Linked DNA regions of Homo sapiens: all the other regions are linked to region 1. Evidence: promoter capture Hi-C in 16 types of primary human blood cells and fetal thymus (Javierre and others, 2016). All regions are on one chromosome and are shown on one strand. Each heading gives the region's core, a stretch centred on a gene start or on the middle of the fragment in contact. The rest is flanking DNA. Distances are from core to core; before and after follow the strand shown. Region 1 overlaps LOC124904557 (a long non-coding RNA gene). Region 2 holds the start of ATP13A2 (ATPase cation transporting 13A2). Region 3 holds the start of ARHGEF10L (Rho guanine nucleotide exchange factor 10 like). Region 4 holds the start of SPATA21 (spermatogenesis associated 21). Region 5 holds the start of PADI2 (peptidyl arginine deiminase 2). Region 6 holds the start of PADI3 (peptidyl arginine deiminase 3).

The links. The method cuts DNA at HindIII sites, captures the fragments that hold promoters and counts their contacts. A CHiCAGO score of 5 or more calls a contact.
Region 2: a contact is called between the fragment with the promoter of ATP13A2 here and a fragment that was not itself captured in region 1, in 5 of 17 cell types (M0 macrophages, erythroblasts, naive CD4 T cells and 2 more). The highest score is 13.7, in M0 macrophages.
Region 3: the fragment with the promoter of ARHGEF10L here is called in contact with a fragment that was not itself captured in region 1 in 1 of 17 cell types (neutrophils); the score reaches 9.5 in neutrophils.
Region 4: a contact is called between the fragment with the promoter of SPATA21 here and a fragment that was not itself captured in region 1, in 9 of 17 cell types (naive B cells, non-activated CD4 T cells, naive CD4 T cells and 6 more). The highest score is 13.0, in naive B cells.
Region 5: a contact is called between the fragment with the promoter of PADI2 here and a fragment that was not itself captured in region 1, in 3 of 17 cell types (fetal thymus, total CD4 T cells and total CD8 T cells). The highest score is 23.0, in fetal thymus.
Region 6: the fragment with the promoter of PADI3 here is called in contact with a fragment that was not itself captured in region 1 in 4 of 17 cell types (fetal thymus, erythroblasts, M1 macrophages and 1 more); the score reaches 25.6 in fetal thymus.

The regions. Positions count from the first base shown.
Region 1 is chr1:234,781,671-234,785,375 of GRCh38, forward strand. The region is part of intron 1 of LOC124904557 (a long non-coding RNA gene); the gene reads right to left. Among named protein-coding and RNA genes, the nearest start is that of LINC02961, 23 kb to the left of the region's middle. RefSeq lists an enhancer at 3,582-3,705. The HindIII fragment of the contact is 5,487 bases long and covers 1-3,705 here.
Region 2 is chr1:17,009,681-17,013,595 of GRCh38, forward strand. It overlaps ATP13A2 (ATPase cation transporting 13A2), which reads right to left and starts at 2,248. Exons shown (of 29, transcript NM_022089.4): 1 at 2,049-2,248. The coding sequence starts at 2,058. RefSeq lists enhancers at 500-579, 1,343-1,392 and a silencer at 1,883-2,412. The HindIII fragment of the contact is 3,526 bases long and covers 782-3,915 here.
Region 3 is chr1:17,538,206-17,541,870 of GRCh38, forward strand. ARHGEF10L (Rho guanine nucleotide exchange factor 10 like) reads left to right here and starts at 1,493. Exons shown (of 29, transcript NM_018125.4): 1 at 1,493-1,745. The HindIII fragment of the contact is 7,990 bases long and covers 1-3,665 here.
Region 4 is chr1:16,435,448-16,438,968 of GRCh38, forward strand. SPATA21 (spermatogenesis associated 21) reads right to left here and starts at 1,977. Exons shown (of 13, transcript NM_198546.1): 1 at 1,681-1,977. RefSeq lists a silencer at 2,707-2,877. The HindIII fragment of the contact is 2,188 bases long and covers 1,641-3,521 here.
Region 5 is chr1:17,117,234-17,120,829 of GRCh38, forward strand. It overlaps PADI2 (peptidyl arginine deiminase 2), which reads right to left and starts at 2,218. Exons shown (of 16, transcript NM_007365.3): 1 at 2,047-2,218. The coding sequence starts at 2,138. RefSeq lists a silencer at 2,028-2,237 and an enhancer at 2,809-3,343. The HindIII fragment of the contact is 8,283 bases long and covers 1-3,596 here.
Region 6 is chr1:17,246,857-17,250,433 of GRCh38, forward strand. PADI3 (peptidyl arginine deiminase 3) reads left to right here and starts at 2,242. Exons shown (of 16, transcript NM_016233.2): 1 at 2,242-2,373. The coding sequence starts at 2,282. The HindIII fragment of the contact is 2,587 bases long and covers 1-2,506 here.

The DNA.
Region 1 (3,705 bases), core at 117-2,616:
ATTAGCCCAGTGCTTCTGCAACCTAGTGATGCTTACCCACTGTGACTCCTCGCGTCAGTATACCCCGGGATGTGTGGAGGCGTTTAAAGGGCTGATGACTTAGAGCTGGTGGTGACATTTTGGAACCTATGGTGCCAGCCACCATTAGGGAAATCCTACACTGATTCATTGGCTCTTCTAGGTAAGGGTTTCAAGAAGCAAGGTCTTCTTGGTAGGAATCTAAGAGAAGAGGCATCCTGGTTGTGTTGGACAGAACATGGTCTTTGCAGCCAGACAAATCTTGATTTAGTACGGACTCCAGAATGTCTGTGTAGACAGGATTTGGGGCAGCAATAATCTCAATGAAAGGGAGATGACAGGGAAGCACATATTGAAGCTACATTTTTGCCTCCTGTAGGCTCTTCCGACTTAGATTGTGTGTTTATTTGGGATAATTGTGGAGAAGGGGGCTGCTACAGATGATGGTTACAACGAAAGCCTCCCAAACCACCCCTTGATAATGACACTGTCTGGATTCAAATCAGCATCTACCACTTACCGTCTATGTGACCTTGGGCGAGTAACTTAGCATCTCCGAGCTACTGTTTTCTTATTTGTAAAATGAGAAGAATAATTCCACTCTGGCAGGGCTTTTGTGGGGGATTACATTGGATAACATATGGGAAAGGGCTTAGCACAATGCAGGCATATAATAGGCTCTCAACATATGGAAGTCTCTTTCCTTCTTTCCATCGCTGGTCCCCAGATGTCTCAGGATCCTAATGAAGTATCCAGATGAGGACTGAGATCTAGAAAGTTCTTTTTTTTTAAGTTAGATATTTGTGGGGGTTTGCTTTTGGATTTTGTTGCCCACCGTTAAGTGTATTTCAAGGGGACACTACATCTGCCCTGCACATTGTAAGTCCAGAATACCATGCAGCTGGCCTACTTGAAAGGGAGCCTTCACAGGCTGAACTACACAGGCAGCACCAGTCCTGAGGATGAAAAAGCCACCATAGCAAATGAATTAGGTCAGCGGCTTTCCTAAAGTCTAGAGGCAGCAGAATCTTCCTACAGTGGGATTTTTTAATGGTTTTTTTCTCCTGGTTTTTGTAGTGTGTGTGTGTGTGTTTCCTTTCTCACTGAACTCCTGGAGGCTGGACAAGACACAGGATGATAGAATAGAAGGAAAAAGAAGGAGACATTATAAGTACATGCCCCAGTACCAAGTTCTTTGCAAGGAATCTCTGGAGACGACTGGTGGAACTCATGGGGTTGGCAGAAAACTACTGACTTTGCATGGCCAACACTCATTGGTTCATTCATGCATTCAGGAAGCATTTGCTGAGGGAGGCTGACAGCTCCCTGGGAGATGTTAATACATGACATAGCCCCAGTCCCTACATTCTAATGAGTTGTTCCAAATAACAAGTGTTGGGACTCAGAAAACAATACCCCAAAAGGAAGGCTTAGCCTCAGAAGCAAAAGTTTTTCTCTGATCTTCTCCTGCCCTCCTATCTCTTGCCCCTCATTCTCCCCGAGGCCAGCCATAGAAACCAGAATCCCTCTTCCCCAAGGCGGATATAAAAACCAGAACCCCTTTTCCCCAAAGCCAGCCATAAAACCTAAAATACAACTCTAGCTTTCCTTCCACCTTTCTGTGTAAAAACTGGCCATAAAGACCTCATCTAACCTATCTTATTTGACTGTAGGTCATAAGACCCCCACTCCAGAAAGGATCCTGTCCCATACCCAGAAGGAAGGAATGCGGCATGGATGCCTGGAAGAATCTAGGCAGACAGGCCTTGCTGCGCTTTCTACTCAGTCTAGTCTAGCATTCCATCAGACCCTTTTTGTCCAGTCATATTTCTATGTGACTATCCATACTGTCTTGAACCTAAGTGTAAAAGTGGACAATTTCCCCTCTATCTTTGGGTCTTCATTCTGAAGGCTCCTGTGTATACACATTAAATAAATGTGTATGCCTTTTTTCCTATTAATCAATCTTCTTCATGTCAGTGATTTTCCAGTGAACCTTTGGGAAGAAATGCTGGCTCAATTAGAAATAGAAATTTGCAAGCCAGGTGCGGTGGCTCACGCCTGGAATCCTAGCACTTTGGGAAGCCAAGGTCAGGATCACCTGAAGTCAGGAGTTTGAGACCAGCCTGGCCAACATGGTGAAACCCTGTCTCTACCAAATATACAAAATTAGCCAGGCTTGGTGTTGCCTGCCTGTAGTCCCCACTACTCAGGAGACTGAGACAGGAGAATCGCTTGAACCCGGGAGGCAGAGGTTGCAGTGAGCCAAGATCACACCACTGCACTCCAGCCTGGGTGACAAGACCAAAACTCCATCAAAAAAAAAAAAAAAGCAAGGAAAGAAAGAAAGAAAAAAGAAGGGAAGGAAGGAAAGAAGGAAGGAAGGAAGGAAGAAAGAAAAGAAAAGAAAAGAAAAGAAAAGAAAAGAAAAGAAAAAAGAAAAGAAAAGAAAGAAAAGAAAAGAAAAGAAAAAAATAAATTTGCAAAAAGATCCGCTATTAGACCTAGGCCAGTGGATCATGAAGCCACACACACCACACTTTGTTTCCTTGCAGGGATCCAGTCCCTCCCCTGAGAATGCAGGCTCCTGACTTCTGGTCTCCCACACCCTCGGTGCTATGCAGTGTCAGCCCAGTATCTGGCTCACAGCAGTCCTAGTGAGCATCTCTTGGGGAGTCCCCTTTACCACCTGTGTATTACAGCTTCCCAAGGATTAGGAGTAAGGGGAAGAAGCCATTTAAACAAAATTGCTTTTGAAGCACAGATGGGTTCACAATACAGAAAAAATGGTGCTTAGCAAGAAATGTTTAGGATTTGGCAGATTCTGAAGTTCATTTCACATTGTTTGATGCTTTAAACCAGCTGCTTCTCCCATTCCCTAAACATCAGCTCCCAAGAGAGCAAGTCAGCCTAGGACTCTCCAGGCAATGATATTTCCTTGGATAATATGCAACCTTTTCTGGAAGGTCTGTTCCATCAGCACTCAGCTCAGCACCCATCCAGAGCATCTCACTTCCCTTCTCACCATGGTTTCCCTAACAATGGATTCCACACGCACATACGGCTATAGAGGGTCAGTTCAACTGAGCGTGTTTCCCAGCAATTGACACAATAGATTCCTCTCTGGGGAGCGAAGGAGTCTACTTACCTGGGATTCCCCTTGTCTCTACTGAGCCACTGGGGGCCATGGTACAAGCAGCCAATCCTAAGGACCCTCCTGCTCTCCTCTTGTTGTCCAGCTTGTTTTCTTAGTATGCGCACTACTTGATTTATGGTGCCTGGAGAACCTCAAGCCAACAAGATGCTTGCTCCTGACTTCTCTGATTCCAGGGTTCCTTACTTCCTAGTCTCCACCCCTGGTTCATAAGCAGCTTGAAGGAAGACACAACCAAGACCCTACCTTTGCAACAGCTGTGAAATGGGATCAGAGAATTCCGGTAAAAGTTTGTCAAGCTAAGTGGGATGTATCCAAGGCTTCGTAAGAAAGGAGGCTGGATCTAGCTCCAGAGCCACTTCTGGAGGCTTGGATAAGAATGGGAAAAGTAAGCCTCCCATTTGCAATTCGCAGACCCATGCTGTGTGGTCTTAAAGCCTCAGGATCAGTTAGGAGGCCCCAGGTCAAAATCCTGGCTGAAACTGTGGGCCCAAACACATAGGCTTTCATTATGGTACAAAAAAAAAATGTGT
Region 2 (3,915 bases), core at 998-3,497, about 220 Mb before region 1:
CACCACACCCGGCCTCAAGACTCTTTATGAAGAAAAGGTTCTTCAAAAAGAGGGCAGAGTCCCCAGTATGTAAACAGCGGTCCCCCTGGGAAGTTCTTCCTCATGGCAATCGTATGACTGTCACTTCACAATGACACTCTCTCAGTCAACCTTGGCAAAGAGGAAAAGGGGAGTGGAACTTGAGGGAGGAAGTCACAGCTGTGGAAACCTCCAGAGCCCCTCCCTGCAGGGATCAAGCCCAGGGCACTCTCTCCTGCAGTACATCTGTTTATCCCCAGCCACAGCCCAGTCTCCCCAGGGCTTCTGTGGGCTCAGACCAGCCCAGAACAGGCACCCACAGGCTGTGTGGGGGGGCGAGAGCACCTTCATGATGGCATTGCTCTTTTTTTTGAGATGGAGTCTTCCCCCCCCGTTCCCCCCTTCCCCCCTGCCCGTCTCCCAGGCTGGAGTGCAGTGGAGAGATCTCAGCTCACTGCACCCTCCACCTCCCAGGTTCAAGCAATTCTCCTGCCTCAGTTCCTGAAGTAGCTGAGACTACAGGCACATGCCACCACACTCAGCTAATTTTTGTATTTTTAGTAGAGACGGGGTTTCCCCATGTTGGCCAGACTGGTCTTGAACTCCTGACCTCAAGTAATCCGCCTGCCTCAGGCTCCCAAAGTGCTGGGATTACAGGCGTGAGCCACCACGCCTGGCCTGTCATTGCTCTTCTGATGAACAGCAGCTCCCATGGAGTGCTCACCATGCCCTGCGGAAGCCCTTCAGTGTGCTAACTCAATGAAGCTTCACACACAACCCTCTGGGGTAGTGACTATTATTATCCCCATTGTACACCTGGGGAAACTGAGGAACAGCATGTGAATCCCTTGTCCAGGGTCATAGAGCTTGAAAGGGGAGAAGCTGGAAATGAGTGTGTCTGAATGGGCACATTCTTTCCCACAGCCATTCCATGAAAAGTACAGATTAGGATTCCCATTTAAAACGAGGCCCAGAGGAGTAGATTGACAAGCACAAAGTCACACAGCTATGAGGGGCCAAGACTGGACTTGAACCTCGTCTGAGGTCACAGCTCGGGGCAGTGTCACCAGCACTGTGGATCAGAGGGGCTAGAGCCATTTGGGACCTCTTATTTCCTGCGGAAGCCTTGGCTTCCTGCTGGTGACCTGGCAGCGGCCCAGGGCGGCTGCCTCCTCCCTGGCTGTGGTTCCCGGCGGCGGGGAGCTCCTGTCTTCTGCCAGGCTGAGGCGGGAGTGTGTGTGAACCATCTTCCCATCTTTGGATCTGGATTCTAGGGGCTGTCTTTCCTCATTCCTTCCCCTCCCTCGCCGGGGGGTGCACTCTAGGCTGTGGGGCTGGGGGCTGAGTGACAGACACTGAGATGAGACCTTTCTGGATAGGGGAGGAGGACTGGCCCCATTCCCGGCAGGTGGGATTTAAATTAGACCCTGGAGGAGTGGGCGTAGGACATCTGGCCAGGGATGGGTTGCATGGAGGGTGTGGCCCTTGGCCCTGGGTGTGACGGGTTTTCTCTGGGGTCTGAGGCAGGAGGTCAGGAGTGGCGCTGTGGCCCAGGACATCTACCCAGGAAATGGAGTCCCGACTCCCCCAACGCCATTCATTCATTCATTCAGCCCAGAGGGGTTGCCCAGAGGCCCGAGGATGCAGCCGTCTCCCCCACCTGGACATCCGTCACTCGGGGTGGGATCCGATTAAGTGGGCGTGGGGTGGCCTCCCCGTCCCCGCACGGCCCCAGGACCCTCTTGCACAAGCGCCCGGCTTCCAATCCCGCGGCTGAGGGGTGCAGGGGAGGGGAGGGACCGGCTGCGAGCGGCGGCGCCATCCCCAGCCCCGGCGTCTCTGGGAAGAAACCGGGGCCGAGTCCCCGTCAAAAGGGAGGGGACGGGCCAGGATCCCCAACCAGGTCCCGCTTCCTGGGCTCGCGACCCCGCGGTGGGGGGCGTCGCCTCCCCTCTCCCTCCAAGGGGTGACGACAACTGGCGGGCCGGGGACCGCGCCGGGCTCGGGGCCGACCCGGACTCCGCACTCACCTGCGCTCATGCCGGCTCCTCGCGCTCATCGCCGGCCCCGGCGCTGCGGCCCTCGGCCTGGGCCCCGGCGTGCGCAAGGCCCTGGGCGGGGGCGCGGTCCGGACGGCCCGGGGCGAGGGGCGCTGGGCTAGCGCGGGGCTGGAGCAGGGCTGACGCGGGCGGGGCACCTGGGCCACCAGGCTCGGCGCGGCTCCGACACTGCCGCAGTCCCTCCGTGCGCGCCGCAAGCCCCGCCCGGCCCTCTGCGGCCCTCGCAGCGCCCGCGCCGGGGCTGCCGGGACTTGTAGTCCCCGCCTGCTCCTCCGCACACACCGGGGGCGGGGCGACCGGAGACACACACCTCACGGAGGTAGCCCCCGCCAGCACGTCCCAGTGGTTAGGGACTGTGCGTGCTGGTCCAGCTCTCCATGTCTTCCAGGCCGCGCGACCGTGAGCAAGTCACTGATCCTCTCTGGCCCTCTTTTCCCAACCTGTAGGATAGCAATGCCTGCTTCACAGAGAACTGCTGCGAGGATCACACAAGAAAATGCTTGTCAACTGGGCGTGGTGGCGCATGCCTGTAATCCCAGCTACTCGGAGACTAAGCCAGGAGAATCGCTTGAACCCAGGAGGCGGAGGTTGCTGTGAGCCGGGATCATGCCATTGCACTCCAGCATGGGCAAAAAGAGCGAAACTCTGTCTCAAAAAAAAAAAAAAAAGAAAATGCGTATCAAGCACTTGAGACAGTGCCTGGCGCTGCTTGATGAATGCAAAGAAGGAAGACACACCTGCCCAGAGATTCACAGGGTCAGATGTGGGCCCACAGAGACCCAGGGAGAGTCTGCCATGATGCACTGGAGGCCTTGAAATGCCAGAGAAAGAGAAGCCTCACAGCGTGACCTGCAGACACACCTGCACTGGGGGGATTCATGAAGACCCCTGAAAGGCACCAGAGATGTCTTACCTGCGTGCAGCATTTATCCTGCTACCCCATAGTGACCGGCACAGGCATAGTGTTCCCTGTCTCCAGGACCTCTGGACAGAGGAGCTCCAAAGGGGAGAGTGGATCTGTGAGATCCTAGGGCAAACAAGGGAAGGTTCACGTTAGGGCCAAGGATAGACGTGGGCAGGATCACTGGTCATTTGTCCAGTATGAATTTATGGAGTGCCAGCACCACTGTGGGAGCCAGGAACGTGAGAGTGAACAAAACAGAGATGCCCCTGTCCCTGCGGAGACTGCTGTCTACTGGGAAGTAGCCCTAGTCAAGGAAAGGAAAACTCCAACGATCCCTATTGTGGAAGGGGCTGGAAGGAGACACAGCTGTGATGGTGGTGAGGGTGTGGGTAGGGGATAGACCCCAGGAGGGAAAGCAGCACCTGATTCATAGCAAGATCCCAGTGAACATTTGGTACAGGAACACACGTTGGCAGGACTTGCTGGTGGATAGGATGTGGGGGTGCAGGAATGTGTGGAATTCAAGATGCTCCCCAGGGTTTTGGCCTGAGCAGCTGGGTGCCAGTGGAGCCATTTACTCAGCTGGGGCAGGCTGCCCGAGCCAACCAGTTGCGGGTCATTCCTGTTGACCACCTGGGCCATGGGACTGGCTTCCTTGGGTCAGGTGACAAGAGTTCTTTCATCTTCCGGTGACACTTCCAGGGGAGGCAGGCTGCTTAACTTTTCAGAACTCCCATGTCCTCCCCCAGGGCTTAGCTCAATTTCTGGCAGGAACCCAGCCTCCAGGGCAGCAGGAAGGCTGGGTTTGGAAATGGCTAGCCCAGGTGGCCTTGGCAAGAGGCAGTATGGTACAGTGGCAAGGGGCTGGGTTCTGGCATCAGAAAGACATGGATGCATGAGTTGCTTTCTAGCTGTGTGAGCTTTAAAATGTCA
Region 3 (3,665 bases), core at 243-2,742, about 220 Mb before region 1:
TTAATGCCATGAGCCTGAGGTCACTCAATGGACATCTGAAGTCTTCTTCCTGCTTTGCTAGCATCCCCAAACCTCTCCTGTCTGCTGTCCTGCCATCATTTATTCACAGCAGGGCAGGGGCCGTGCCTGTTGTGTTCACTGGTGTCTCCTGCGTGCCTAGAACGATGTCTGGAACAGAGCAAAAATGCTCAAAGAATATCTCCTGCCTACTTAAACTATGAGCCAGTGTTGCCCTAGCCTGGGGCTCAGGACAACTCTGTGGTGCTTATGTTCTTGTGTCGAGAGGGACAATAAACAAACCAACAAGTCGGTGAATAAGATGATTTCAGTGCGTGGCCTGTGTGGCTTGTCTCACTGCACTGTAGCCGTTTGTTTATTTGCGTCTTCTCCTAAGCCTATGAGCTCCGAGGGGGCGGGGCTGGGGTCTGTCTGGTTCTTTGTCTCACTGGTAGCCCCTGAGGCTGGTGCCTGACAAATAGGGAGTAGTTAAAAAAAAAAAAAAAAAAAAGTTTTTGCTGGCTGTGGGCTGTAAGGAACACAAGCTGAAAATGATTTCAACCTACGTGCACCTGTACCCTTTGGAGGCTGCAGAACTTATCATTATCAACCCAGGAGTAATTGCTGATAAGCCCGCGTGTGAATTTCCTTGCAAATAGAGGGGTAGCGGGGGAGTGTTTAACAACAACGCGGATAATCTTAATTAATGACCTGATAACTGTAATTAATTGCATCATATCCAGAGGCCCTCTTTGGAATTTCAGGAGGGAGTACCTAGTGTTTGGCAGCTTTGGAGCTGCAAAGGCAGGGGAATGCTAGGATCTCAGTCTCAGCACTTTGCTGCTCAGTGAGCTTTGCCAAGTTACTCTCAGTTCTGAGCCTCAGTTTTCTCCTAGGGAAAATGGGGCTACATCACTGGGGTGTTGCCGGTCTCAAAGCCGTCAATGCCTGAACCCGCCAGGGTTGTTCTTGGAGGTTTGGCTGCATGGCTGCAAGGTTCCCCATGTTGCCATGGCGGGGGTGGGGGGCAATACGGGGCCGCCAAGACTGGTTGAGGGGCAGGTCATAAGTCTAGGGTTTCCCCTGGGGCCGGTCCAGGATTCTCACCCTTTTGGGGGAACCTCAGGGCAAAATGTTGAAGTGGGGGAGGAGAAGCCAGCACCCTGCGCGCCTGCGGGGTCTCCCCGCGGAGAACCGGGGAAGGAGAACCGGGAGGCGGGAAGTGGGGACCCCGGGGTAGGTGAAGGAGCGAGGAGGTCGCCGTGTGGCCGGGGCCGGGCCCCATCCCCGCGGGCCTCAGTTTCCCCCCTGTACTGTGGGGGGCCGGTGGGCTGCCGGGACCGCTGGGGGCTCGCAGCGGGTCGGGGGAGGCCACGTCTCCCTCGCGGCGCGCTGGGAGCAGGGAGGGGGCGCGGCGGCCGCTGCCCCGGCCACCAGGGGTTAAGCGGTGACCTCAGCCGCGGCGCCCCGGGACCGGGCGGGCGGGGGCGGCGCCGCGTCGCGCACGGCGGCGGCGGCGGGACCAGGCCTCGGAGCGCGGCGGGCGCGGGCGCAGTCCCGGCGGGCCCGGACCTCGCGGGCGGGCGGGCGGCGCGGCCATTGGCTCGGGTGGCGGCGGCTGCGGCGGTGGGGGCGCCGTCCCGGCCATGGGCGCCCGCGGCGGCCTGCGGAGCTGGAGGCGCGGCGCCGGCCGCCAGGCGCCTTTGTGAGCGGCGCGGACGACAAAGGCGCGGGCCCGGGCAGCCGAGGTGGGTGAGTGAGCGCGGGGGCCCTGCCTCCGCGGGATCCTCGCGTGTGCCGGAGTCTGCGAGTGCGCGGGAGGCGCTCCAGGCGCCAGGGTCCTCCGGGTGTCCTGGGCGTGTCGCCGTGGGCGGGCGGGGGCCGTGTCCGCCGCTGTGTCCCTGTGTCTGGGTGTGAGAGCCCCGAGCCCGCGTCTCCCCTCTGTGTGGGTCTCTCCTTGTGTCACTGGAGTTCTGGTGTTACTAGGGCGAGTGGCCTTTGTGCTTCAGCTTGTGTGTGTGTGTGGCCTCCAGCCGGCTGGAGTCAGGACAGTTTGGGAACCCCCACCCCCACCCTGTGCCTCACTTTCCCCTGTGGTCCACTTCTTCCTGCGCTGACCTTGGGGGTCCCTGGGATCGGGTGAAGTCAGGGAGTGCCCCTGTCGCCTCTGTGGTGAGTCAGCCTCTCCCACCCTGGACCCCCGCCCAGAGGCGGAACGGGACGGCCTCCTGCAGGAGGAGACTGTGGGAGGAGAGGATGCCGGGTCAGCCGGAGGCCGTGGCTGCGGAGCCGCCAGTCCCGGATCCTCCCTGGAACAGGGATATATGTCAGGGAGGGCCCTAGATGAAGACCAGCCCCCCTGGAGTCGCTGGGATGGCCTCCGAGAGGGAGAGCAGGCCTGACTGTAGGGGGCATGGGGACAATTCTTCCTCCCTCTGCCAAAGCGGGGCCCTGGGGCGGGGGTCTCGAATCTTCCTTTGGCCCTGAAAGCCAGGAGGCCCTGCGTTGCATCAGTGCCAAGTAGAGAGGTGGTGGCTGGTGGGCTGCACTTTCCCACTGGCTTTGGAGCTCAGTTTCTGCCCCAGAGTCCTTGGCCTCCCTTAAGGATGCTACTGGGAAGCCACGCCCCACCTGCCGGGAGCCCCATCTGCTCCTCCTCGGGTTCTGGGGAGAGAGGGCAGGTTGTGCGGGCTCATTAGAATGCATAGCTCTTCCCAGCATCCGCCCAGCACTGTGCCCCCCACGGTGTTCAGGCCCTGGACACACAGACTAGAAAGCAGGTCAGCCTCCGGAAATCTCCAAGCTCCCTGTGACTGTGGGCTGGGGACTGCCCTTCCCCTTCATCGGGCCCTCAGGCTGAAGCTCAGAACCCTCCTGTAAGGAAGGCTTCCTGGGGTGCCCGAATCTGATGCTCGCTCTGTCCCCAGGCGCTTGCCTTCCTGAGGCCCCCTGTCCCTTCCCCTTCCACCAAAGAGCCTCTGTGGGCTGTTCTCTCTATCCAGGAAGTGGGTCCCATCCTTCACCTCTTTCATTTCTCACTCGGGAGCTACTTCCTCTCCAGTGAGCCAGGGTAGCCACAGTGCTCTGAGGGTTCCTGCCCCAGTTGTGGGGGCGGGGGGCTTTTTTCAGTCTTCCAGTGGAACAGGGGCCATGTCTGTCCTTGATCACAGCTCAGAACAGTGCCTGGTGCATAGTGGGTGCTCTACACATAGTTGCTGAATAAATGAATGTCCAATAACTAATGGTTCCCAAATTCTGTTTCAAGTTTTAACTCTGGAGTAGTCTGGGGAGGGGCGAAAGCTGGTGTACTGCTCTGGGGCCCAGGTACCAGGTTAGTATAAGAGGAGGTTGGGTGTGGTGGCTCACCCTTGTAATCCCAGCACTTTGGGAGGCCAAGTTGGGTGGATCACTTGAGGTCAGGAGTTCGGGATCAGCTTGGCCAACATGGTGAAACCCTGTCTTTACTAAAAATGCAAAAATTATGGCCAGGCTCAGTAGCTCATGTCTGTAATCCCAGCACTTTGGGAGGCTGAGGTGGGCGGATTACCTGAGGTCAGGAGTTCAGGACTAGCCTGGCCAACATGGTGAAACCCCATCTCTACTAAAAATATAAAATTAGCTGGGCATAGTGGCACATGCCTGTAGTCCCAGCTACTCGGGAGGCTGAA
Region 4 (3,521 bases), core at 727-3,226, about 220 Mb before region 1:
CTGGGATTACAGGTGTGTGCCACCACACCAGACTAATTTTTGTATTTTTAGTAGAGACGCGGTTTTGCCATCTTGACCAGGCTGGTCTCAAACCCCTGACCTCAGGTGATCTGCCCACCTCAGCCTTCCAAAGTACTGGGATTACAGGTGTGAGCCACCATGCCCGGCCCCCCCCTTTTTTTTTTTTCAGACAGGGTCTTACTCTGTCCACAGGCTGGACTGCAGTGGCATGAACGTGGCTCACTATAGCCTTGACCTCTTGGGCTCAGGTGATCCTCCCATTTCAGCCTCCCAAAATGCTGGGATTACATGCATGAGTCACAGCACCCAGCCTGCCTCTGTCCATTTATACTGGGTTGTCTTTTTATTATTGCACGGTAAATGTTCTTTATAAATTCTAGATACATGTCCTGAATCATATATATGATCTGCAAAAATTTTCTCCCATTATGTGGATTACATTTTCACCTTTTTGTCTTTTGAAGCACAGAAGTTTTAAATTTTTGTAAAAGTCCCATTTATCGGCCTGGTGCGGTGGCTCACACCTGTAATCCCAGCACTCTGGGAGGCTGAGGCGGGCGGATCATGAGGTCAGGAGTTTGAGACCAGCCTGGCCAGCAAGGTGAAACCCCATCTCTACTAAAGATACAAAAAATTAGCTGAGTGTGGTGGTGCGTGCCTGTAATCCCAGCACTTTGGGAGGCCGAGGCGGGCAGATCACCTGAGGTTGGGAGTTTGAGACCAGCCTGACCAACATGGAGAAACCCCGTCTCTACTAAAAGTACAGAATTAGCCGGGCATGGTGGCACATGCCTGTAATCCCAGCTAGTCAGGAGGCTGAGGCAGGAGAATTGCTTGAACCTGGCAGGTGGAGGGTTGCAGTGAGCCGAGATCGCACCATTGCACTCCAGCCTAGATGACAGGGTGAGACTCTGTCTCAAAAAAAAAAAAAAAAAATACAGATAGGGTGCAGTGTATACTGCTCAGGTGATGGGTGGACCAAAATCTTACAAATCACCACTAAAGAACCTACTCATGCAGGGCAAGGTGGCTCACGCCTGTAATCCCAGAACTTTGGGATGCCAAGGGGGGCAGATCACTCGAGGTCAGGAGTTTGAGATCACCCTGGCTAACATGGTGAAATCCTGTTTCTACTAAAAATACAAAAATTAGCTGGGCATGGTGGTGCCTGCCTGTAATCCTAGGTACTTGGGAGGCTGAGGCAGGAGAATCGCTTGAACCTGGGAGATGGAGGTTGCAGTGAGCAGAGACTGCACCACTACACGCCAGCCTGGGCAACAGAGCAAGACTCCGTCTCAAAAAAAATTACTAATGTAAACAAAAAAAAAACACCAAAAAACAAAAACCTTAGTCATGTAGCCAAATACCACCTGTACCCCAATAACCTATGGAAAAACAAATAAATAAATAAATAAATAAAAAGTTTTGAAATCAGGAAGTGTGAGTCCTCCAACTTTGTTCTTTTTCAAAATTCTTTGGGTATTGAGTGCCCCTTTTATAAGTGGTTTCCTCATCTGAAAAATGGGAGAATTTCTCTTGGAAATATCTATGATGGCAGGAAAATACAGCAGATAAAGATAAGTGGCATATCATATATATGTCTGGAGGCCGTCAGGGAAAGCTTGTTCACCTTACACCCCACCTTGGCCCTGCACCTACCAGAAATCAGCTGGATGAGTCACAGTGAGATTTTCCACCCCTGCTCACCGCCTTGCACATAGGATGGGCTCTGTCTGAGCCTATACTTTGCCTGTTGGCTTGAATTGGATTTGTTTGGTATACAGGGCAGTTAAACTGGGAATAGATGGCAGGTCCAATTATTCTCAGCAGCAGAGGTTTAGGAATGCATTTCAGGAATATCCAGCCATGTGGTTAGGGTTTGAGAATAAGGCAAGGGGCTGTGTGACCTCCAACTACTGGACAGTGTCATTTCCCCCAGCTTGTCACTGGTTCAGTGGCCCCCATTACACAATGAAGATAACAATCGTTGCCTTGCCAACCTCACAGTGATTATTGGGCCAGGGTACTCTCTCCCAGAAAGCCTTCCCTGACTCTCCCCAGACTGTGTGGGGTTTCTTCTCTTTGCTCCCACAGGCCCCTGTGAATTTGCTTCATTACAGTACCTTTCATTCTGCTTTGCCAATGACTGCTTTTCTCTCTGTCTCCTCCAGTCTGCGAGCTCCAGGATGGTAGGAGCTGGATTGGCCACATCCCAGTGACCCCAGTACTCAGCACCTGGCATAGGGTATGTGCTCGATGCCTGTCTTTGTTAGACTGAACAGAACTGAAAGTGCTCTGAATGGCTGGGTGCGGTGGCTCACACCTGTAATCCCAGCACTTTGGGAGGCCGAGGTGGGTGGATCACTTGAGGTCGAGTTATAGACCAGCCTGGCCAACATGGTGAAACCCCGTCTCTACTAAAAATACAAAAATTAGCCAGGCATGGTGGCGCATGCCTGTAATCCCAGCTACTTAGGAGGCTGAGGCACGAGAATCACTTGAACCTGGGAGGCAGAAGTTGCAGTGAGCTGAGATCATGCCACTGTCTTCCAGCCTGGGTGGTAGAGTGAGACTTAGTCTCAAAAAAAAAAAAATTGGAAAATAAGGCCAGGTATGGTGGCTCATGCCTATAATCCTAGCACTTTGGAAGGCTGAGGCAGGAGGATCTCTTGAAGACAGGAATTCAAGACCAGCCTGGGCAACATAGCAAGACCCCCGTCTCTACAAAAAGTAAGAAAAATAGCAGGGTAGGGTGGTGTGTGCCTGTAGGCCCAGCTACTCAAAAGGTTGAGGCAGGAGGATCCCTTGAGCCCGGGAATTTGAGGCTGCAGTGAGTGATGATCGCACCATTGCACTCCAGTGTGGGGTGACAGAGAGAGAAAGAAAGAGAGAGACCCTGTCTAAAAAAAAAAAAAAAAAGAAAAGAAAAAGAAAAGAAAAGAAAAGAAAAATAACCAATATTTGCAAAAATGTGAAGAAATTGAAACCCTTGTGAACGTAAATGGTGCTGCTGCTGTGGAAGACAGTTTGGAGGCTCCTCAAAAAGGTGAGCAAGGCCGGACATGGTGGTTCACACCTGTAGTCCCAGCTACTTGGGAGGCTGAGTTGGGAGGATCACTTGAGCCTGGGAGGTTGAGGCTGCAGTGAGCCATGATCATGCCAGTGCTTTCCAGCCTGGGCAACAGAGTGAGATGCTGTTTCAAACAAAACAAAACAAAACAAAACCACTAAACATAGCATTATTGTATAACTCAGCAGTTTCACTCCTATGTATACACTCAAGAAAATGGAAAACAGGACTAGAACAAGTGTTTGAACACCAATGCTCATAGTAGCCCGATTCCCAATACCAAAAGGTGATAACATCCCAATTGTTGACAGATGAATGGATAAACAAAATATGGTATATACATGCAATGGAATATTATCCCTCCATTAAAAGGAATGAAATTCTGATCCATGCTACATGAAAGAACCTTGAAAACTTGATGCTAAGTGAA
Region 5 (3,596 bases), core at 968-3,467, about 220 Mb before region 1:
TGCACTGGATTACAAAGACTTAGCATGAAAAAAGGAAGGTAAACCATTTCCTTAATAATTTTTATATTGATTGCATGTTGAAATGATAATATTCTAAAATATTGGGTTAAACAAAATATATTATTAAAATTATGCCTGTTGTTTTAACTTTAAAAAAGTGTGGACTACTAGAAGATTTAAAATGCAATTGTGGTTTTGTTGTGGTTCAAACTGGACTTTTCTGGACAGTACTGGTCTAGAGCGCACTGCCCCTCTCTGTGGTGGTGGAGAACCTTAAGTGCCGGTGGGGGTTAGGGTCTTTGTGGTCGTTGAGACAGGACAAGGGGAATCGTCACACTGCTGCCCCCTGCTAGAGGGAGGCTGAGTCCATATCTGCCCCACTCTGTGCCCCTACCCCAGCTGGGCCTCTCTTTGCCAGGATAGAGCGATAGCAGGGCGCCTGAGCAGGAACCCTCCTTTGCTCCCCACCCCCGACTGGGAGGATCATGCCAGCTTTTCAGGCGGCACCAACCATGCCCCAGCAAATAAACAGGTGGGTATGGTGACAGCTGAGGCTTAGAGACCTGAGCACTCTGGCTCCGCGCCCACTCCCTAGCGGTGCCCAGTTCAGGGCTGGGGGTGGGGAAGGCAGGGGAGCTCTTGCACCCCACCAGAGCCTGGACCACCCTCCACTGCTGTGTTCTTGTTCTCAGAGACCACCCAGTCCACCTCTGAGGTTTACATGGGGGACAACTGAAGCCCAGGCCCAGGGGAAGGCAGAGGTTGAGGCCAGGGACAGAGGCATGGAGTGGGTCCCTAGTCCTGGGGCTTGTTGGTATCAGCGTGGCCAGTGCCTCTGCAGCGGTGGCAGGAGACTGGTTGGGCAGGTGGGAGGGCTGCCAGGGCTGTGTGGGGAGACACATGATGGGTTGGTGGGGGCCTGGGAGAGGCAGGGTGCTCCAGGTGTCAGGATGATTTGAGAGCCATAAACCACGATGGTGCCTCCGTGTGAGTTCAGCTTGAGGCAGAGAGGATAGGGGACTCATCCGGTGTCAGCACAGGGTCCCACCTCAGAGTCCTGCATGCTCCCTGCCCCCAGCACTGACCCCTCCAACCCTAGCAATGGGGAGGTTTTAAATGCTTGGAATAGAGGGGGCAGATCAAACCCCAGCATAACCCCACCCTTTCATTCACACCAGCCACACCTTTCCAAGGCCCCGTCCCATTACTCAGGGAGACAGATCATTGGACTTGGCTGCTTTCTGGGATTGCGGGGGGAGTGGTAGGGCCCTACCCTACCTTCAGCTGTCTCGGACATCCCGCACTCTACCAAGTTCTTGGACAGAGAGAAGGGGAGGGAGCAGAACTCTGAATCAGGATCCTTTTCCAACAAAGTACCCCGCTATACACCCCAAGTCCCCGTCGTCAGCTGGGTAGAATATTGTCCCTCTGTGGTCTCAGAATGAAGTCAGGGGAAGGTATCTGGGGACACGGAGCTCAGGGCCAGTGCCTGGGGACAAGCAACCACCAGCAGCCCCCACAGGGCGAAATCGGAGCCTGAGTAACCTCCAGGGCCGGATTCAGCCTCAGGGCAGCTCCCTTCGGGTCCTGCCCCAGTCCCCGGCAAGTCTCCGCGGAAGCTCCGCTGAACTGGGAGTGGGAAGCAGGAGAGGGGCTGGGTTGAGGTGGGTCCGAGGGGAAGTGAGGTGCGGAGGGGAAGTGAAAGGGGAGAGGACGGCAGGGAAGCTGAAGGGGTGTGAGGTCCCCCGGGAGGAGAACTGGAGAGGGCCAGACGGAGGGTTACGGGTGAAAGGGAGGGTCTGTGAGGGAGCTGGGGCTGAGGCTGTGTTAGGGGGTCTGGGAGAGTCTCAGGGTTTCTGGAAGGTGGACACAAGGTTCGGGGGTTGTCAGGTTTCTGGATGAGATTCTTAGGATTTCTGGGCTCGGGGGCTCGGGATGAGGGACAACTCGGGCTGGACAAAGGCTGTCCACGTCCCCGAGTCTGAGCGCGTCTCAGGATTTCTGGGCTCGAGATCTCGGCCCGGGCATCACGGTGGGCCGGCTCACCTGTAGACATCGGTCCAGAGGTAGGTGCCCAGCACGTACACCGCCTCCACGCGGCTCCCGTACTGCAGCCGCACGGTCCGCTCGCGCAGCATCCTCCCCGCCGCAGTGCCCGCGCTCGCTGGTCCGGGGCGGCCGGGAGCACCTGCAGCAGGTGCGCCTTCTCCAGCAGCCTGCGCCCCACGGCCCCGCGCGCAGCCTTATCCAGCGGCCGGTGGGCGGGGCGGCCCGCCCCAGTCCTCTCGCAGTGGGCTGCGGGCCTGTCCGTCAAGCGTGGTCCCGCCCCTAACTCGTCCCGCCCCGCTGAGGTCGTGGCGAAGTCATCAGGGACCAGTTTTGTGCTTTCCATGGTTGGATTGTCATTCTTTCATTCGACAAACCTTCGGTGGGCGCCCAGGTGTTGGAGGGCCCTAGCTCCCCTCCGGACGCCCCAGCCCAGTGGGGCTGAAAATGCAAATGTGGGAACACAAAGAGGGTGCCCTAACCCAGCCTGGGGGCCAGGAAGCCTTCCCAGAGAAGACGATCCTGGAACCTTCTTAAAGGAGGCGTTTGCAAATTAAAGGCGAGGAGAGGGAGCTGCCTGTGCAAAGCCGGGTGCAGCCCGGTACCCCCATCCCCCAACAGTCAGATGAACCTCACCATAGAGAAAACGGGAAGCGGTGGGGATGGGGAACCCGGCAGCTGAGGGAGACCAGGACGCCAAGCCAAGGCATTGGAGGGTGGGAGATGGGAGCCTGGAGTGGTTGTCTCCGCGAGCCGTGGTCGGGTGTGCTCGTGAAATGGGTCATTCTGGGCTGGGGAGGGGCAAGGAAGCCCCTGGCTGTGGCCAGAGCTGGAGAGGTGGGGACTGACCCGGCCACTGCTTAGGGACTGGGATTTTGGTGGCACCTGGTGACTGATAGGATGTGTGGGTGGAGGGAGAGGAGAGGGGTAAGGATTAGGGCCCCGGTTCTGGCCTGGGCCACCAAGGGAAGGGGGGTGCCACCCAGAGGTCATCGTGTGTCTCACAGAGGCTGAGATGTAGGATGACAATCAGTGTGGGCCTCGGCCAGCCCCTCCCATGTCCCAGCCCTTCCCCTGGGACCCAGTGGGAGTGCTGTTCAGACACATACATCAGCCCTGTGTGAGGAAGTGGTCTTTGGTAGGTGAGGACAGAAACTGAGGGGGGGTGGGCAGAGGCCGTGGGAGGGAAGGAGTGGGGCGGAGGGGATGTGTGTTTGGGAAGGAGTTAGAGCTGATGGAAGATGGAGCTCCAGGAACGGGTGCCCCCAGACAAGAGGGGTGAGGCCCACAAGTGCCCAGTGCTGATATACCCAGCCCTTGGACTCCAACCTTCTCCCTGAGGCGGCCCAAATTAGGAGGTGGTGAAGAGCCCAGCTGCTTCTGAGTGGCAGGGATTTGGGAGGAATGTGAGTGGGGAAGAGGGAAGGCCCGAGTTTTAGCCAGGAGGTCATTTGTCCCCCAAAGGCACAGCTCACAGACCCAGGGAGAGGCCAGTAACTGTTTTTTTTTTTTTTTTTTGAGACAGAGTTTTCCTCTTGTTACCCAGGCTG
Region 6 (3,577 bases), core at 992-3,491, about 220 Mb before region 1:
CCTCAAATTACACCGTTTGATACTCACTCACTTTATTTTAGCTTTTGTTGTGGAGTAAGAGGGCAAAAAGTTGCTGCCTATTAGTCATTGACACTTTAGTCTGAATTAACCACAAACCTGTTTCTAAAAGTTGGTATTAACAGAGGAGAAGTGAAGGCATGAGTCTCCTTCCAAAGACATATACAGTTCTCCGAGAAAGAGGCAGGTAGTGGGCCAGCACCCCAGGGAAAGCCCCTACTTTCTGCATCTATTCCCCATCTGTGCTCACAAGAAGGCTAGGGAGACTAAGGCTTCCTCCTGAGCTCGAACTCTTACCCAGGGCTCCCAAGGCTGACTCAGCCATCAAGCCATTCCACAGCTGAAAAAAGTGAAGCTGTCCCTTGACCCAGAAGCCCAGCAGTTCTCCTTGAAAAGAACATCTTTCCCAAAAACTGAGACATGGGAATGACAATCTCAGGGTCCTGTTGAGGCCCTTGAACTGGTGCAGATGTCCCAGCTGGAGATGCTGGGGAGCGGGTCCTGGTCCCCATCCTGTCTCAGGCTGTCAGCACTGCCAGGGAGAAGGGAGGAAACCTCTATTCAGCACCTCCTGAGCCTCCGCCAGGCAGGGTGCGTCTTCACTATTATCTCCGCCAGGGCCAGTGATTAGCTGCATTTTCTACAGATGAGGAAACCGAGTCTCCAAGAGGGGGGACACTGACACCCAAGGCCCTATAGTGGGTGCACGGTGGAGCCTGCCTCTGAACCCAAGACTTCTCTCCCCAGAGCCCTTGCTCCTGCTCTTCCAGGAGCCTGAATGCCCCTCTGACTTCGGTTTCCCACCTGACGACTGAGCTTTCCTACTCTGACATGCCAAGCTCCCCCTGGCTGGAGAGAGTTCTCACCCTCATCATTTACCGCTTTCAGAGGTTTTTGGGACCTAATAACAGCAACAATAGTAATACAATAACGCCAAGCTCCATACCAGAGCTCTACCAACGCTGGCCCCTGAGGCCTCACAGCAACCATTTTTCAGACGAGAAAAGTGAGGCACGAACAATTAAGAAAGTTGCCCGGCCGGGCATGGTGGCTCACGCCTGTAATCCCAGTACTTTGGGAGGCCAAGTCGGGTGGATCAAGAGGTCAGGAGATCGAGACCATCCTGACTAACACGGTGAAACCCCGCCTCTATTAAAAATACAAAAAATTAGCCGGGAGCCGTGGCAGGCGCCTGTAGTCCCAGCTACTCGGGAGGCTGAGGCAGGAGAATGGCGTGAACCCGGGAAGTGGAGCTTGCAGTGAGCCGAGATCACGCCACTGCACTCTAGCCTGGGTGACAGAGCGAAACTCTGTCTCAAAAAAAAAAAAAAAAAGAAACTTGCCCAAGGTCGCCCATCCAGGAAGCAGCTGAGGCAGGGCTGAAACCCAGGTCTGGCTCTAAAATCCATTAAAAAAAAAAAGTTGGTGTTTCTCAAAGGGCACCAAAATGCTTTGGGGGTGCTTATTAAAAAATCCAGAGGGCCGGGTGCTGTGGCTCATGCCTGTAATCCCAGCACTTTGGGAGGCCGAGGTAGGTGGATCACCTGAGGTCTGGAGTTCAAGACCAGCCTGACCAACATGGAAAAACCCCGTCTCTACTAAAAATACAAAATTAGCCGGAAGTGGTGGCACACGCCTATAATCCCAGCTACTCGGGAGGCTGAGGCAGGAGAATTGCTTGAACCTGGGAGGCGAAGGTTGCGGTGAGCCGAGATCGCACCATTGCATTCCAGCCTGGGCAACAAGAGTGAAACTCCGTCTCAAAAAAAAAAAAAAAAATCCAGAGGCCAGGCTGCACCCCTAACCTGCTGGATCAGAGTGGACAACAGACCTGGGAATCCGCATTTTCACCAGCTTCCCCAGCAGAGTAAGAAAGCTCCCCATTATAGTCTCTGAAAATGCAGAAAATGGAGGTGAGGAAGCAAGAAGCGTCCGAGATCAATATCATATATCTCTGCACCCCCTCAACAGCACCTGCCCCCAACAGTTCCTGGTGCCTAGCCAGGTACCTGTGGGGACTTGCTTCCCAAGAAATTAACTTCCTGGGTGCCGGGGTCGGGACAACAGGTTCGTATACAAATACTGGGTCCCTTCCAGCCAATCCTGAGCTCTCAGCTCTGGGAAGGGGCTGGGCTTTCATGACTGGAGCCAATGAATTGGCACCCTGGGCTGGAGGGGTGGGGCCAGGGGCTTTTAAACCTCATCCTAAGGGGCCTCAGGGGCAGTGTTGGGGTTGGCGGCCACAGCTAAGTCCAACACCAGCATGTCGCTGCAGAGAATCGTGCGTGTGTCCCTGGAGCATCCCACCAGCGCGGTGTGTGTGGCTGGCGTGGAGACCCTCGTGGACATTTATGGGTAAGAGTCAGAGGCCTAGTGGTTTGCAGGCCCTTGGTGCTGATGCCCTTGGACCTTCCTCCCTGCAGGCTGGGCAGGGCTTCTTCAGGGCCCACTCCCCAGCCTTGGCCTCGGAACAGCAGCCAATCAGGGAAGCTTGGGTCCTCCTCTTGCTCTACTGAGTTTCCTGAAGACCTTAGCCAGGGAATTTGAAGTTTGGGAGGCTGAGCCAGGTAGAAGAGGCTTCAGTGACTGAGCTCCAGACCGGGGGCTTGGAGGGGGCTGGTGCCGCGAAGAGATGGCACTTTTCTATGTCCAAGGGATGCTGCAGGTTGGGCTGAGGATCTGTCTGGGGCACACAAGAATAGGAACAGGCAGATATCCCCAGCCCCATCCTGAGCCTATGAGCCTAGAAACAGAGCATGAATCATTTTTAAAAAATAAGTTAATACATAGCACTTACCATGTGCCAGGCACTATTCTAAGAGCTTCACAAGTCTCTTGAGTTAAGTTTTGAACTTTAATCTTGAATTTAACCCTTACAACAACCCTGTGAGCTAGGCTTATTATTAGCATCATCTCATCAGACAAATGAGAAAACCGAGGCAGAGAGGGCAAGCCATTTGCTCAAGTCACACAGTTACTAAGTGGCAAAGCCAGGGTTTAAACCCGCTTGTGGTCTTACTCAGGAGTCTTATGGTTTTAGCTGCTCTGATACTTGGAAAATAAAGATTTCCAACCTGGTTTCCTCTAGACACTCAATGCCCATGCATTATGCTCCTACTGTGTGCCAGGTCATGCCTTTGAGGCCCATGGTAGAGGGAGGTAAGGCCTTATCTTCTCTCTCTTAGGAAGAAAAGAGGGTTAGGGTAGGGTTTTAAGAGCTGGGCTCTGGGGACCACCAGGGAGCTGGCTTCTTAGGCTTTTGGGGAGAATCCAGGGTCCTGGCTTGGAGGTAATCAGGATACTGGGAGGGGAGGGTGCAGAACTGTGGGACAGCTCTCACCTCTCAAGTCTCCCAGCCCTCTCCTCAGGCCAGGTTTCTCAACCTCAGCACTGCTGTCACGATACCTCTTTGTCATGGGGGCCACCCTGTGCACTGTAGGATGGAGAGCAGCATTCTGGGCCTCTCTTTGCTAGATACCAGCAGCACACTCCCGAGTTGTGACAACCAAAAATGTCCCCAGACATTGCCAAATGTGCCCTGGGGTGGGAAGAAAATAGC